Regions from separate parts of the Homo sapiens genome. Here regions 1, 2, 4 and 5 are each linked to region 3. Evidence: promoter capture Hi-C in 16 types of primary human blood cells and fetal thymus (Javierre and others, 2016). All regions are on one chromosome and are shown on one strand. Each heading gives the region's core, a stretch centred on a gene start or on the middle of the fragment in contact. The rest is flanking DNA. Distances are from core to core; before and after follow the strand shown. Region 1 has its middle 6.0 kb from the start of NSUN4. Region 2 overlaps RAD54L (RAD54 like). Region 3 holds the start of EFCAB14 (EF-hand calcium binding domain 14). Region 4 overlaps NSUN4 (NOP2/Sun RNA methyltransferase 4). Region 5 overlaps LRRC41 (leucine rich repeat containing 41).

The links. Contacts are between HindIII fragments. The CHiCAGO score rates a contact against its expected background, and 5 or more counts as called.
Region 1: a fragment that was not itself captured here is called in contact with the fragment with the promoter of EFCAB14 in region 3 in 3 of 17 cell types (neutrophils, monocytes and total CD4 T cells); the score reaches 7.4 in neutrophils.
Region 2: a contact is called between a fragment that was not itself captured here and the fragment with the promoter of EFCAB14 in region 3, in 2 of 17 cell types (neutrophils and monocytes). The highest score is 5.4, in neutrophils.
Region 4: a fragment that was not itself captured here is called in contact with the fragment with the promoter of EFCAB14 in region 3 in 1 of 17 cell types (neutrophils); the score reaches 6.9 in neutrophils.
Region 5: a contact is called between a fragment that was not itself captured here and the fragment with the promoter of EFCAB14 in region 3, in 1 of 17 cell types (neutrophils). The highest score is 5.6, in neutrophils.

Annotation. Positions count from the first base shown.
Region 1 is chr1:46,333,426-46,336,125 of GRCh38, forward strand. No RefSeq gene overlaps it. Among named protein-coding and RNA genes, the nearest start is that of NSUN4, 6.0 kb to the right of the region's middle. RefSeq lists a silencer at 515-564. The HindIII fragment of the contact is 1,082 bases long and covers 751-1,832 here.
Region 2 is chr1:46,251,657-46,254,356 of GRCh38, forward strand. The region is part of intron 3 of RAD54L (RAD54 like); the gene reads left to right. Among named protein-coding and RNA genes, the nearest start is that of RAD54L, 5.2 kb to the left of the region's middle. The HindIII fragment of the contact is 4,720 bases long and covers 1-2,700 here.
Region 3 is chr1:46,717,678-46,720,377 of GRCh38, forward strand. It overlaps EFCAB14 (EF-hand calcium binding domain 14), which reads right to left and starts at 1,437. Exons shown (of 11, transcript NM_014774.3): 1 at 226-1,437. The coding sequence starts at 410. RefSeq lists silencers at 1,242-1,291, 1,612-1,661. The HindIII fragment of the contact is 11,051 bases long and covers 1-2,700 here.
Region 4 is chr1:46,351,612-46,354,311 of GRCh38, forward strand. It overlaps NSUN4 (NOP2/Sun RNA methyltransferase 4), which reads left to right. Exons shown (of 6, transcript NM_199044.4): 4 at 1,257-1,417. Among named protein-coding and RNA genes, the nearest start is that of NSUN4, 12 kb to the left of the region's middle. The HindIII fragment of the contact is 4,922 bases long and covers 1-2,700 here.
Region 5 is chr1:46,290,317-46,293,016 of GRCh38, forward strand. The region is part of intron 3 of LRRC41 (leucine rich repeat containing 41); the gene reads right to left. Among named protein-coding and RNA genes, the nearest start is that of LRRC41, 12 kb to the right of the region's middle. The HindIII fragment of the contact is 8,091 bases long and covers 1-2,700 here.

The DNA of each region.
Region 1 (2,700 bases), core at 42-2,541, 380 kb before region 3:
TTTTGTATTTTTAATACAGATGGGGTTTCATTATGATGGCCAGGCTGGTCTCGAACCCCCGGCCTCAAGTGATCTACCTGCTTTGGCCTCCCAAAGTGCTGGGATTACAGGCCTAAGCCACCACACCTGGCCGCCCCTTTAAGATTAAGGAGGAGTATCTAATCTCTGAGGGGGAATGAAGTAGGGGACTGGCAGGAATTATTTCCAGCTCCCAAGGTGCCGCTTAGATAAAATGAAGAAACCGGCAGGAACCAGCAGATGGCAACAAAAACCATCCCTAGCTACCCTCACTGGTCATTAGCATAAGATACTTCCTCTGGGGCATATTTACAGATGCTATGGCAATGACCAGGAAGTTACTGCCCCTTTCCTAGAAAGTTAGGAATAACCTGCCCCTCAATTTGCATTAGCCTGCTTCTTAATTTGCATCTAATTAAAAGTGGGTGTAAGTGGCTATAAATACAGTTGCTAACAGGACAAGAGCGGCTCTGGGCACACTGCCTATGAGTTGTCTCTACTCTACAAGGAGTAGCTCCAGTTCAATAAAAATTGCTGTTTGACCACTCATGGTGGCTGATGCCTCCAATAACAGCACTTGGGGAGGCTGAGGCAGGAAGATTGCTTGAGCTCAGGAGCTTGAGACCAGCCTGGGCAACATAATGAGATCTTGTCTCTACAAAAAATACAAAAATTAGCTGGTCATGGTGGTGGGCACCTGTGGTCCCAGCTACTTGGGTAGCTGAGGTGGGAAGCTTGTTTGAGCCCAGTAGGTTGAGACTGCAGTGAATTGGGATTGCACCACTGCACTCTAGCCTGGGTGGCAGAGTGAGACCCTGACTCAAAAAAAAATTGCTGTTTAACACCACCGGCTCACCCTTAAATTCTTTCCTGGGCAAAGCCAAGATCCTTCCCAGACTAAGCCCCAGTTTTGGGGCTCGCCTGCCTGTCTGCATCTAAACCACAGCCCTGCACAAAAACCATCACAACCTTACACAAAATACTACTGTGAAAACATCTGCCCAGTAACTGCCTGTCCAACCTTGGACTGATGCTTGTTATTGACTAACCCTTGTTACTAATTCTTGTAGCAAGGGATAATTGTTCCAAAACAACTTACTATGTGTAACGATTCTCACTTTTCCTTTAACCCCCGCCCCCCCTGCTTTTTTTTTCAGGTCAGGCATAGTGGTTCATGCCTGTAATCCCAACTCTTTGAGTGGCCAAGGCAGGCGGTCCCTTGAGCCCAGGAGTTTGAGACCAGCCTGGGTAAAATGGTGAAACCTCATCTCTACAAAAAATATGAAAATTAGCCAGGTGTGGTGGCTTGTGCCAGTAGTAGTCCCAGCTACTTGGGAGGCTGAGGCAGGAGGATTGATTGAGCCTGGGAGGTTGAGGCTGCAGTGAGCCATGACTGTGCAACTGCGCTCCAGCCTGGGCAACACAATGAGACCCTGTCTCAAAAAAAATTAAAAAACAAAAAACAACTCTTGTTTTCCTTTACCTCCTCATATGCCCGTAGGTTAATATGGTACCATATTCCACATTGCAATGCTTACTCCTGAATTAATTGATTATATTTGGATAATCTCTTTTATTTAGTTTGACAACAGAACTAAGGTAGAAAGAAATCAACTATAAATATAAGAGTGGAAATCAATTACATATAAAAGAAACGGAGGAAAACAACAAAACCGAAAGCTAGTCCTTTGAAAAGTTCAATAAAATATATAAACATCTCATTAGCCTGATAAGGTACAAAAGAGGGAAGACACAAATTGCCAATATCAGTAATAGGGGACATCACTAAGGATCCTATAAACCAAAGGTCAGCAAGCTTTTTCTGTAAAGATTCAGGGAGCATGTTTGGCTTTGTGGGCCACACATGATCTGTGGAGCAACTACTTAACTCTATTGCAGTGGTAAAGGAGCCATAAAAATTATGTATTTATATTTCAAAAACAGGCTGCAGGATGAATTTGGCTTGTGGCTGTAGTTTGCCGCCCCATACTATAGACATTAAAAGGATAATAATGGAATATTCTGAAACACTTTATATGAAGACAATCAATACCTTAGATGAAATGGACACATTCTTTAAAAGACTAAAATTGTTGGGGCTGGGCTTGGTGGCTCATGCCTGTAATTCCAGCACTTTGGGAGGCTGAGGCAGGGGGATCACCTGAGGTTGAAAGTTAGAGACCAGCCTGGGCAATATGGTGAAACCCCGTCTCTACTAAAAATACAAAAATTAGCCGGGTATGGTGGTGCGTACCTGTAATCCCAGCTACTCAGGAGGCTGAGGCACAAGAATCTCGAACCTGGGAGGTGTAGGTTGCAGTGAGCTGAGATTGCACCACTGCACTCCAGCCTGGGTGACAGAGTAAGACTCTGTCTCAAAAAAAGAAAAAAAAAAGATTCAAATTGTCAAAACCAATGCAAGAAGAATTAGAAAGTTCAAATAGCTCTATATTAGGGTTTCTCAACCTCAGCACTGTTGATATTTAGGTTGGATAATTGTTGTGGGGAAGGGCTGTCCTGTGTATTGCAGGGTACTGAGCAGTATCCCTGGCCTCTACTGACTAGATGCCAGAATGACCACCCAGTTGTAACAACCCCAAATGTCTCCAGATGTTACCACATGTCCCCCAAGGGAGGGATAAAATCACCACTGCCCTATATCATTAAAGCAATTGAGCCAGG
Region 2 (2,700 bases), core at 55-2,554, 470 kb before region 3:
AGCATTCTGGGAGGCCAAGGTAGGCGGATAGCTTGAGCTCAGGAGTTTGAGACCAACCCAGGCAACATGGTGAAACCCCATCTCTACCAAAAATACAAAAAAAATTAGCTGGGCATGGTGGCGTGTGCCTGTTGTCCCAGCTACTTGGGAGGCTGACATGGGAGGATCACTTGAGCTTAGGAGGTGGAGGTTGCAGTGAGCTGAGATTGGCACCATTGCACTCCAGCCTGGGTGACAGAGCGAGACCCCGTCTCAAAAGAAAGAAAATGGTGTTAAAATGGTGTGTAATCCTCTGGGACTGTTTCATTCAGGATTTGTTCAAAGTTGTCCTGTGTAACTACATGGCATAAGTGCAGTTGTGGGAGTGCACAACAGGAGACCTATGGGTCTGGAGATTGGGGAAGACCTGCCTCTGAGAGATGTGCTGTTAAGTCCTGAAAGATATGAGGGGTTAGACAGGTGAAGGGAGTGGAAAACATTCTAATAGAAGGAACAGCTTATTGGAAAGACTGGCAGCAATAGAGGCAGGTACTGAAAAGAGAGTGTGGGGAGTTGGGGGATGGTGGTGAGAGATGAGAGTTGGAGAGCTGTGCAGTGGCTAAGAGTGGAAGGCCTTTCAGAAGCCATGCTAGGAGAGTCTGGACTAAGGTCACTGAAGAGCTTTAGAAGTGTTTTAAGTGGGGGTAGGAGGTAACAGCAGTATAGAATATTTGTTGGATGGGGAGAGACTGGAGGTAGGGAAACTAGTGAGAAAGCTATTGCAGGTGGCCAAGCAAGAGAGGATTATGGCCTGGACATGGGTTTTAGGGGAATGGGGAATGGGAAGAAGTGGGTGGATTTTGAGAGATACTTAAAAATTACAAGTGGAAAAACTTGGGATTGATTACATGTGGGGAGAGGGAAAATTGAGGATGAAGTTGGGATTTTAGGCTTTGGCAAGGTAGATGGATGGTGGTGTCATTTGCTGAGATAGGGAACACAGAAGAAGAATGGCATTTGGTGGGAGGGAGATGGCAGGCACTGTAATCAGGAGGCCCATGAAGTTCAATGTATTATACAAGAGCTATTCTCTTTTAATAGCAAAGTTACAGGAATAGAACAGAAGATAGACAACATTAAAAATGTACTTGCAGGCCAGGTGTGGTGGCTCACACCTGTAATCCCAGCACTTTGGGAGGCTGAGGCAGGAGGATCACTTGAGCCCAGGAGTTTGAGACCAACTTGAACAACATAGTGAGACCCTATTTCTAAAAAACAATAAATAAATTGGCTGGATGTGGTTGCACGTGACTGTAGTCCCAGCTACTCTGGAGGCTGAGGTGGGAGGATCGTTTGAGCTGAGGAGGTCAAGGGTGCAGTGACCCGTGATACTGTCAGTGCACTCCACCCTGGGTGACAGAGACCCTGTCTCAAAAGGAAAAAAAATACTTGCGTATAGGAAAATTCAGAAAAGTATAGTTAATGGGTAGAATCTGCTGTATGATAAGAATGCTACTAACACTGTTTAGTTGCTGTCAATAAGAAATTGTATTTTAAAAAATCCATTGTCCAGAAGATATGAACAGGTTTGTTTATGGTTGTTATAAAATTGAAGTGCTGAAACTTGTTCACTGAAACATTTTGACTTGTATTAATGCTTTACATCCCTACATTTATATTAAGAATTCACACAAAAGGCCGGGCACGTTGGCTCACGCCTATAATCCCAACACTTTGGGAGGCCTAGGCGGGCGGATCACAAGGTCAGGAGATCGGAGATTGAGACCATCCTGGCTAACATGGTGAAACTCCATCTCTAGTAAAAAGTACAAAAAATTAGCTGGGTGTGGTGGCGGGCGCCTGTAGTCCTAGCTACTCGAGAGGCTGAGGAATGGCATGAACCCGGGAGGTGGAGCTTGCAGTGAGCCAAGATTGTGCCACTGCGCTCCAGCCTGGTGACAGAGCGAGACTCTGTCTAAAAAAAAAAAAGAATTCACACAAAAAATGAAAATGGAAAAACTGCAAACTGCAATACCGGATTTCTGTCCCCTATTTTTCTACTCACAGTGATATACTTAGGTACTCTTTTTTTTTTTTTTTTTTTTTGAGACAGAGTCTTGTGTTCTCACCCAGGCTGGAGTGCTGCAGTGGTGCTGTCTTGGCTCACCTGCTTACTTATCTCCATTCTCCTTCAGCTGGAGCTTGGTGAGCTAACACTGCACTTAGAGAGCGATGGTGATCTTTAATTCCTTTTGAAATCAGAAGAAAAAAAATACATAGTAATCCAGCCTGATTATATTATTATAGTTATCTTTATACCAATGCAGTCTTTTTTGTTTTTGTTTTTTCTTTTTTTTGATAGGGAGTCTTGCTCTGTCGCTCAGAATGGAGTGCGGTGGCGTGATCTTGGCGCACTGCAACCTCTGCCTCCCAGGTTCAGGCGATTCTCCTGCCTCAGCTTCCTGAGTAGCTGGGATTACAGGCACCCGCCACCATACCTGGCACATTTTTGTGTTTTTAGTAGAGACATGGTTTTACCATGTAGGCCAGGCTGGTCTTGAACTCTTGACCTTGAGTGATCTGCCTGCCTCAGCCTCCCAAAATGCTGGTATTACAGGTGTGAGCTGCTGCATCTGGCCTCTTTTTTTTTCTTTTTTTTTTCTTTTTTTAATGGAGGAAGGGGTCCCAAAGGCAAAAGTGCCTGGGGCCCACAAGAGTCAT
Region 3 (2,700 bases), core at 187-2,686:
CTCAGATTTGGAGCTTTTCTTTCTACACCTAAAGACAGATCTCTAACTTATTCTTCATTCAGGATCTGAACTTACCTTCTCCCTAAAACCGTTTTTCCCTCTTTGACTTCCAAGGCCTACACCCTTTTTTCTTCCTAAGGACTTCCTTTCTCCTTCCTGTCAATGTGGCCCCTTGGTAGTGCAAGGAGATGCCTTCTTCCCATTCCACCTTTCACCACTACTCACTTGGCAAAGCGAGAGCGATTTCCAACCACACCGAATTCCTCTTCCTCTTCGGAGCTGGACTCAGAGTCTGAGTCGGGAGGCTCAGTGCGAAGCAGGCGGTGACTGCTTGGGCCTTTCTTGGGCTTCTTTCTCCGGCTGTCCCCAGCCAAACCAATCAATGCATTGAGCTCTTTGCGCTTTTTCATCTTTTTGTGTGGGGTGAGTGGAGCCCCGACTCCTGAGCTGCCAGGTTCGTACCCGATGCCCAATTCTCTTCCTGCCTTGGAGCTGCCTTCCAGGGTTGGGAATCCTGGGCCAGAGCCCCCTGGTCACTCCCACCTAGGGGTGGGACTGACCAGATCCGCCAGGGACTGGAGATTGGAGCCCAGAGGAAACTGGAACTCAGATGGGTGGGGGAAATCACATAGAAATGGCCAAGGAGCTGGTGACCCCAAAGGATAAGGCCTTGGGTGCAGAGTGTTAGTAGAGGGTGGAGAGGGACCTTTATCTCCCAAAGGGCGAAAAAAAAGCCAGGTCAAAAATGAAGGATTCTCAGCCCGGATAAGTAGGCAATACTTCTAAGGGTGCTCCAGGAGGTGAGGAAGGGCACGCTTAAAATACGTGTTTCGGACCTCCGGAGCAAGATTTCCAATGGAGAGGGAAGAGAAACTCGTTCTTGAATGGGAAGAGAGTGGGGAGGTGCAGAGTAAGAAAGTGGGAACGCGTCAGTCCCTTCCTTGCAGGAGAGGTGGCGGCAGGAGGGGGCTCCCAGCAGCTACAATCCCAACACTGCTTGGCCGCAGAGAAAATGCCCTGGCCAGGAAGCCGGCTGGGGTGTGTGATGATCACCGTTCTCCGGCCTCCGTCCTGAACGTGAAGGGGGCCCGAGGCCGAGGAAGATCCGGAGCCCGGCTAGAAGGGTCGGCCTGAGAGAAGCCAGTCCCGCGCCTGATAGACCCCCGCCCCGCTGTCTGGGCCTTGGGGACACGGTGCCGCGGGCGACGGCGGCTCGGCCGACCGAAAGCGCTCCCGCCCGGAGTTTGAGGTCTCCGGCACGGGCAACTCTCGGCCACTCACACGCGCAGGCCCCACTCCAGCCGCGACTCCGGCCCCTGCTCCGGCTTCGGCCGCGGCTGCTCCCGACACGTTGTTGTTGGCGTTGGTGGCGGCGGCTGCGGCGGCGGCGGCCGCGAGCTCCAGCCCCGGGCCATCGCTCCAGCCCCAGATCACTTCCCCTTTGGCAGCGGCCGCCTGCGCCGCCTGCCAGTAAGCCGCACTCCCATTGGTCGCCCGCTGGGGTGACGTCACGCCGGGGCGAAAGTCGTGGCGGAGAGGTGGGGCGTTAAAGGGGCCCTGCCCCGGCTGGGGCTGGGTCCCACCTGCCGATTAGGGTGGCCCCGCCCCCAGGAGGGCTTCCGGGACCTGCTGCGAACCTGAGCCGGGTGGAGTCCTGCATCCTGCGGAGCGCGGGCGGGGCAGGCAAAGCGCCCGGCTGCTCGACCTACTTCGAAAGTTCATCAGCCGCCCACGCCCCCTGGACTAACCAAGTCTGAAGGCTCCGCCTCTCTGACTCTCACACAGGCTGTTAAAAGTTTAGGCGCGTTTCAGATTAATTAACACATTCATTCAGTCAATAAATATTTATTGAGAGCTTACTTACTACGTGTCAGGAGCTGTTCTAGCGCTGGGGATACAGCCATGAACAAAATAACCAGGGTCCTTGTCTTCCTGTATAGTGTTGCCAGATTTAGCAAATAAAAATGTAGGACACCCAGTAAAGTTTGAATTTCAGAGAAACAGCAAACAATTTTTTAGCATTAAGACATCCCATGCAACATCTGGGACATCCTCACACTAAAAAATTATTCATTGTGTATGTGAAATGCAAGTTTAACTGAGCATCGTGTATCTTATCTGCCAATCTATTCCTGCAGTTTATTTATACTCTAGAGGGAGGAGAGCAACAATAGGCAAACATATTAAATGTCAGGAGGTGATAAGTGTTATGATGAAAATTGAAACACGGTCAGGTGATGGGGAGTGCCTCTGTGAAAAGGGAACATTTAGTCAGCTTATCGGAGGAGAGGTGAGGGAATGAGCTGTGCAGTGGCTGCAGGAAGGAGTGACCAGGAAGACCTGTTGTGGCTGGACCAGAAGAGCAAGGAGCAGAGTGATAGGAAATGAGGTCAGAGAAGCATCAGAGGCCAGGGCTTTAGGGCCTTATGGATCACTGAAAGGACTTTGGGAAAGCACTGGGGGCTTTAAGCTGAGAGGTAGCATACTCTGGCTTTTCCGTAAAAAAAAAAAAAAAAAAAAAAATTCACTCTGGGCCAGCGCGATGGCTCACGCCTGTAATCCCAGCATTTTGGGAGGCTGAGGTGGGCGGATCACAAGGTCAGGAGATGGAGACCATCCTGGCCAATATGGTGAAACCTTGTCTCTATTAAAAATACAAAAATTACCTGGGCGTGGTGGTGCGCGCTTGTAATCCCAGCT
Region 4 (2,700 bases), core at 133-2,632, 370 kb before region 3:
GGCCAGGAATTCAAGACCTACCTGGGCAACATAGTGAGACCCAGTCTCTTTTTTTTTTTTTTTTTTTTTTTGAGATGGAGCCTTGCTCTGTCGCCCAGGCTGGAATGCAGTGGCGCCATCTCGGCTCACTGCAAGCTCTGCCTCCCGGGTTCACGCCTTTCCCCTGCCTCAGCCTCCCGAGTAGCTGGGACTACAGGTACCCACCCCCATGCCCGGCTAATTTTTTGTATTTTTAGTAGAGACGGGGTTTCACCATGTTAGCCAGGATGGTCTCGATCTCCTGACCTTGTGATCCGCCTGCCTTGTCCTCCCAAAGTGCTGGGATTACAGGTGTGAGCCACCGTGCCTGGCCTTCCAGTCTCTTTTTAAAAAATTATTTAAATATATTTTTATTTTTGTAGAAATGAGGTATCGCTATGTTGCCCAGGCTGGTCTTGAACTCCTGGGCTGAAGCAATCCACCTACTTTGGCGTCCTCCCAAAGTGCTGGGATGAGAGGCGTGAGCCACTATGCCCAGACTCAGAGACCCTGTCTTTAAAAAAAAAAAAAAAGAATGTGGCTGGGTGCAGTGGCTCACACCTGTAATCCTAGCACTTTGGGAGGCCAAGGCAGGCGGGATCACCTGAGGTCAGGAGTTCAAGACCAGCCTGGCCAACATGGTGAAATGCTGTCTCTACTAAAAATGCAAAAATTAGCCGGGTATAGTGGTGCACACCCATAGTCCCAGCTACTCAGGAGGCTAAGGCATGATAATCACTTGAACCCAGGAGGTGGAGGTTGCAGTGAGCTGAGAGTGTGCCACTGAACTCCAGCCTGGGCGACAGAATGAGACTCTGTCTTAAAAAAAAAACAAAAGGAAAGAGAGGGAGAGAAAGAAAAGGAGAGAAAGGAAAGGGAGGAAAGGGGAGAGGGAAAGGAGAGAAGAAAGGCGAAAGTAATGGGGAAAGGAAAAGGGGAAAGGGGAAAGAAAGGGGAGAAAGGGGAGAGAGGACAGGAAAGGAGAAAGGAAAGGAGTCTTACTTGGTCTGCTTTATTCATTGACTTAAATAACTTTGATACTTTCTGGCCCATTTAGGTGTTTGCCATTGTACCCCCACTCAGAATGACTGATGCTGTGCCATGCACATAATAAATGTTCCTGATGCTGGGGTTTGCATTGGCTGGGACTACCTGAGAATTGGTCTGACTCCATCAGCGCCATTGCTGGTGGAATGTTTCATTGGGTCATGGCCTCTGAAGTATCTTTATTTCCATAGGCAATCTTGCTGCCAATGATCTCTCCCCGTCCCGAATAGCCAGACTACAGAAGATCCTTCACAGCTATGTGCCTGAAGAGATCAGGGATGGAAATCAAGTTCGAGTTACCTCATGGGATGGCAGGAAATGGGGAGAACTGGAGGGGGACACCTATGACCGGGTGAGTGATTCTTGATTTAGGACATGCATCCAGCTTAATGCGGCCTCCCCATCCTGGTTCTAGGGCCTGAGGGGTTAGGATCCAGCCCCTATGTTTGAGCATGTAGAGCTGTTTCTGGACTGGCCAGTTCTACATTGGTGATTTGACCAAAAGAAAAATCAGCTTAGATGACTGGTTATTATCTCTATTAAAGATAGTTGGCAGCAAAAAAGAATTTGAAACTATTTGAGTAGGGGAAAAATTTACTAGGCTTACTTTATTTCTCAAGTCACTTGGTTGCTCAGAAAGCCTCATGAAGGTAAGTAAGAATAAGCTCATTTATTTATTTTTGAATGTTAGTACAGCACATGGTACAAAATTCAGAAGGCACAAAAGAGTATCCAATGAAAAGTGAGTTTTTCTCATCTGGCCTGTAGCCCCCTACTTCCCCACCCTATAGATAACGATTGTTTCTTTTTTTTTTTTGAGACGGAGTTTCGCTTTTGTTGCCCAGGCTGGAGTGCAATGGCGCGATCTCTGCTCACTGCAGCCTCCGCCTCCTGGGTTCAAGCAATTCTCTGCCTCAGCCTCCCGAGTAGCTGGGATTACAAGCGCCCACCACCACGCCCGGCTAATTTTTGTATTTTTTTTAGTAGAGACGGGGCTTCACCATCTTGGCCAGGCTGGTCTTGACCTCCTGACCTCGTGATCCACCCGCCTCGGCCTCCCAAAGTGCTAGGATTACAGGCGTGAGCCACTGCGCCCAGCCGGTAGTATATTATATTATACTCACTATTCTGAACTTTGTATTTTTTTATTTAATAATGTGTCCTGGGGTTAAATCCTTTTTTAATTTTGTTGACATTGTGGAAGTATAGTTGTTGAATAACAGTTTACATCCATTTAAGATTTTGATAGCGATTGCTAAATTTCTCTGTGGAGGTTAAACCAGTTTCACTCCTACTGGTAATGAATGAGTACTGATTTCCCACATGCTGCCAATATTGGTGCTATCAAACTTAATTTTTTTGCCAAATGGATAGTATCTAATTTACAATCTCTTATTAATCATGTTGAAAATCTCCATATTAATTTTTTTAAAGTTTTTTTTTTTTGAGTGGCAGGTTTTCACTTTGTCACCCAGGCTGGAGTACAGTGGTGTGAACACGGCTCACTGCAGCCTCAACCTCCTGGGCTCAAGGGGTCCTCCTGCCTCAGTTTCCCGAGTAGCTGGGACTAGAGTGTGCCACCATGCCCAGCAAATGATTTTTTGTAGAGACGGGGTCTCACTATGTTGCCCAGGC
Region 5 (2,700 bases), core at 54-2,553, 430 kb before region 3:
GAGGATCGCCTGAGCCTGGGAGGTTGAGGCTGCAGTGAGCTAAGATCGTGCCACTGCACTTCAGCCTGGGCAACTGGAGTGAGACCGTCTCAAAAGTGTAAACTAACTCTGGAGTATTTACATATATGAGAGTACCTATATATATTTGTTTTTACAACATTGAGACAATTCTGAACAGTTTCAAATGCTGGGCTTTTAAAACATACCATGTATTCAAATATTTTTAGAATATTTTATTTTGAAAATGTGTACCATATGTAATAATACTTGCTGTATTTAATATTTCCATTGTTTCTAGCTTTTTTTTTTTTTTTTCCTCTGTCGCCCTGGTCTGGGCTGGAGTGCAGTGGTACAATATTAGCTCACTGAAACCTCTGCCTCCCGGGTTCAAGCAATTCTTGTGCCTCAGCCTTCCAAGTAGCTGAGACTACAGGCACACAACACCATGTCCAGCTAATTTTTTGGTATTTTTTAGTAGACAGGGTTTCGCCATGTTGGCCAGGCTGGTCTCAAACTCCTGAGCTCAGGTGATCCACCTGCCTTGGCCTCCCAAAGTGTTGGGATTACAGGCGTAAGCCACCATGCCCGGCCTGTTTCTAGTTTTTTTTTTTTTTTTTTTTTTTTTTTTAAGACATTCCTGCTCTGTTGCCCAGGCTGGAGTACAGTGGCACGATCTCGGCTCACTGCAACCTCCATCTCCCAGGTTCAAGCTATTCTCCTGCCTCAGTCTCCCAAGTAGCTGGGATTACAGGCACGTGCCACCACACCCAAATAAATTTTGTATTTTTGGTAGAGATGGGGTTTCGCCATGTTGGCCAGGCTGGTCTTGAACTCCTGACCTCAAGTGATCCGCCGCCTTGGCCTCCCAAAGTGCTGGGATTACAGGTATGAGCCACAGTGCCTGACCCTGTTACTAGCTTTTTTATATTAAACTCTTCTGTAATAAACATCTGGAAATAAATCTTCATGAGTATCTCAATTTTTATATACTATAAATTCTAAGGAGTAGAACTTATAGCCAAATTATTTTTTTAAGAGACAGGGTCTTGTCCCATCACCCAGGGCTGCAGTGCAGTGGTGAGATCATAGCTCACTGTAGCCTTGAATCCTGGGGCTCATGCAATCTTCCTGCCTTAGCCTCCCAAGTAGTAGGGACTATAGACGCATGCCACTATGCACAGCTAATTTTTAAATTTTTTCTGTAGAGATAAGGTCTCACTGTGTTGCCCCAGCTGGTTTTTTTTTTTTTTTTTTTTTTTTTGAGATGGAGTCTTGCTCTGTCGCCCAGGCTGGAGTGCAATGGCACAATCTTGGCTCACTGCAACCTCCACCTCCCAGGCTCAAGTGATTCTCCTGCCTCAGCCTCTTGAGTAGCTGGGACTACAGGCATGCGCCACCACGCCCGGCTAATTTTTGTATTTTTAGTAGAGACGGGGTTTCACCATATTGGCCAGGCTGGTCTTGAACTCCTGACCTCAGGTGATCCACCTGCCTCGGCCTCTCAAAGTGCTGGGATTACAGGTGGGAGCCACCACGCCCAGCCTAAATTTTCTGGGGAGGAGAGGGTCTCTGTCAGCCAGGCTGGAGTGCAGTGGTGCTATTATAGTTCACTGCAGCCTCAACCTCCTGGGCTCAAGTGATCCTCCCACCTTAGCTTACCAATTAGCTGGGAGGTACATGCCAACACGCCCAGCTAATTTTTAAAAATTATTGCAGGCCGGCCACAGTGGCTTATACCTATAATCCCAGCACTTTGGGAGGCCAAGGTGGGTGGATCACTTGATGTCAGGAGTTCGAGACCAGCCTGGCCAATGTGGTGAAACCTTGTCTCTACTAAAAATACAAAAAGTAGCCGAGCTGATGGGCGCCTGTAATCTCAGCTACTTGGGCCAAGATCATACCACTGCACTCCAGCCTGGGTGACAGAGAGAGACTCTGTCTCAAAAAAAAAAAAAAATTATTGTAGAGATGGGGTTTCCCTGTGTTGCCCAGACTGGTCTCGAATTCATGGGCTCAAGTGATCCTCTTGCCTTGGTGTTCTAAAGTCTGGAATTACAGGTAAGAGCCACCACATCCAGCCAGCCTAGATATTTTAAAGTCTGAACAAATATTACCAGATTGCCTACCAAGAAAGTTACAACAATTTCTGTTCCCTCCAATAGCATAGTAAAATGCAAATTTCGCCATGGCCAAACCTAGGCATTACCTTTGCGATGAAAACCAAATCAAAACAAGACTTTACTAAACTAAGAGGTGAAATAGGGATTTTACTTTCTCACTTTTATCATGAGACAACATTTTTCACTTTACTGGGGATTTTTGTGTATTTCATGATGTGTCCAAATCCTTACTCATTTTATTTTACTGGGATATTTGTCTTTTTATTTTGTGTCCCTTTGTTTTGCAAATATTGTTGCAAATGTTCTTTCCCAGTGTATTTACCTTTTAAAATTTGGTTATGGTGTTGGCATTTTCATTTTTTTAATTTAATCAATACAAAGTCCTGAAGATAGTGTTAGCATTTTATGTGGTTAAATATGTCTGTATTTTCTTTCTTGGTTCTGTGCATTTAATAATTAGCACTCTCGGCTGGGCACGGTGGCTCACGCCTATAATCCCAGCACTTTGGGAGACCGAGGCGGGTGGATCACGAGGTCAAGAGATGGAGACCATCCTGGCCAACATGGTGAAACCTCATCT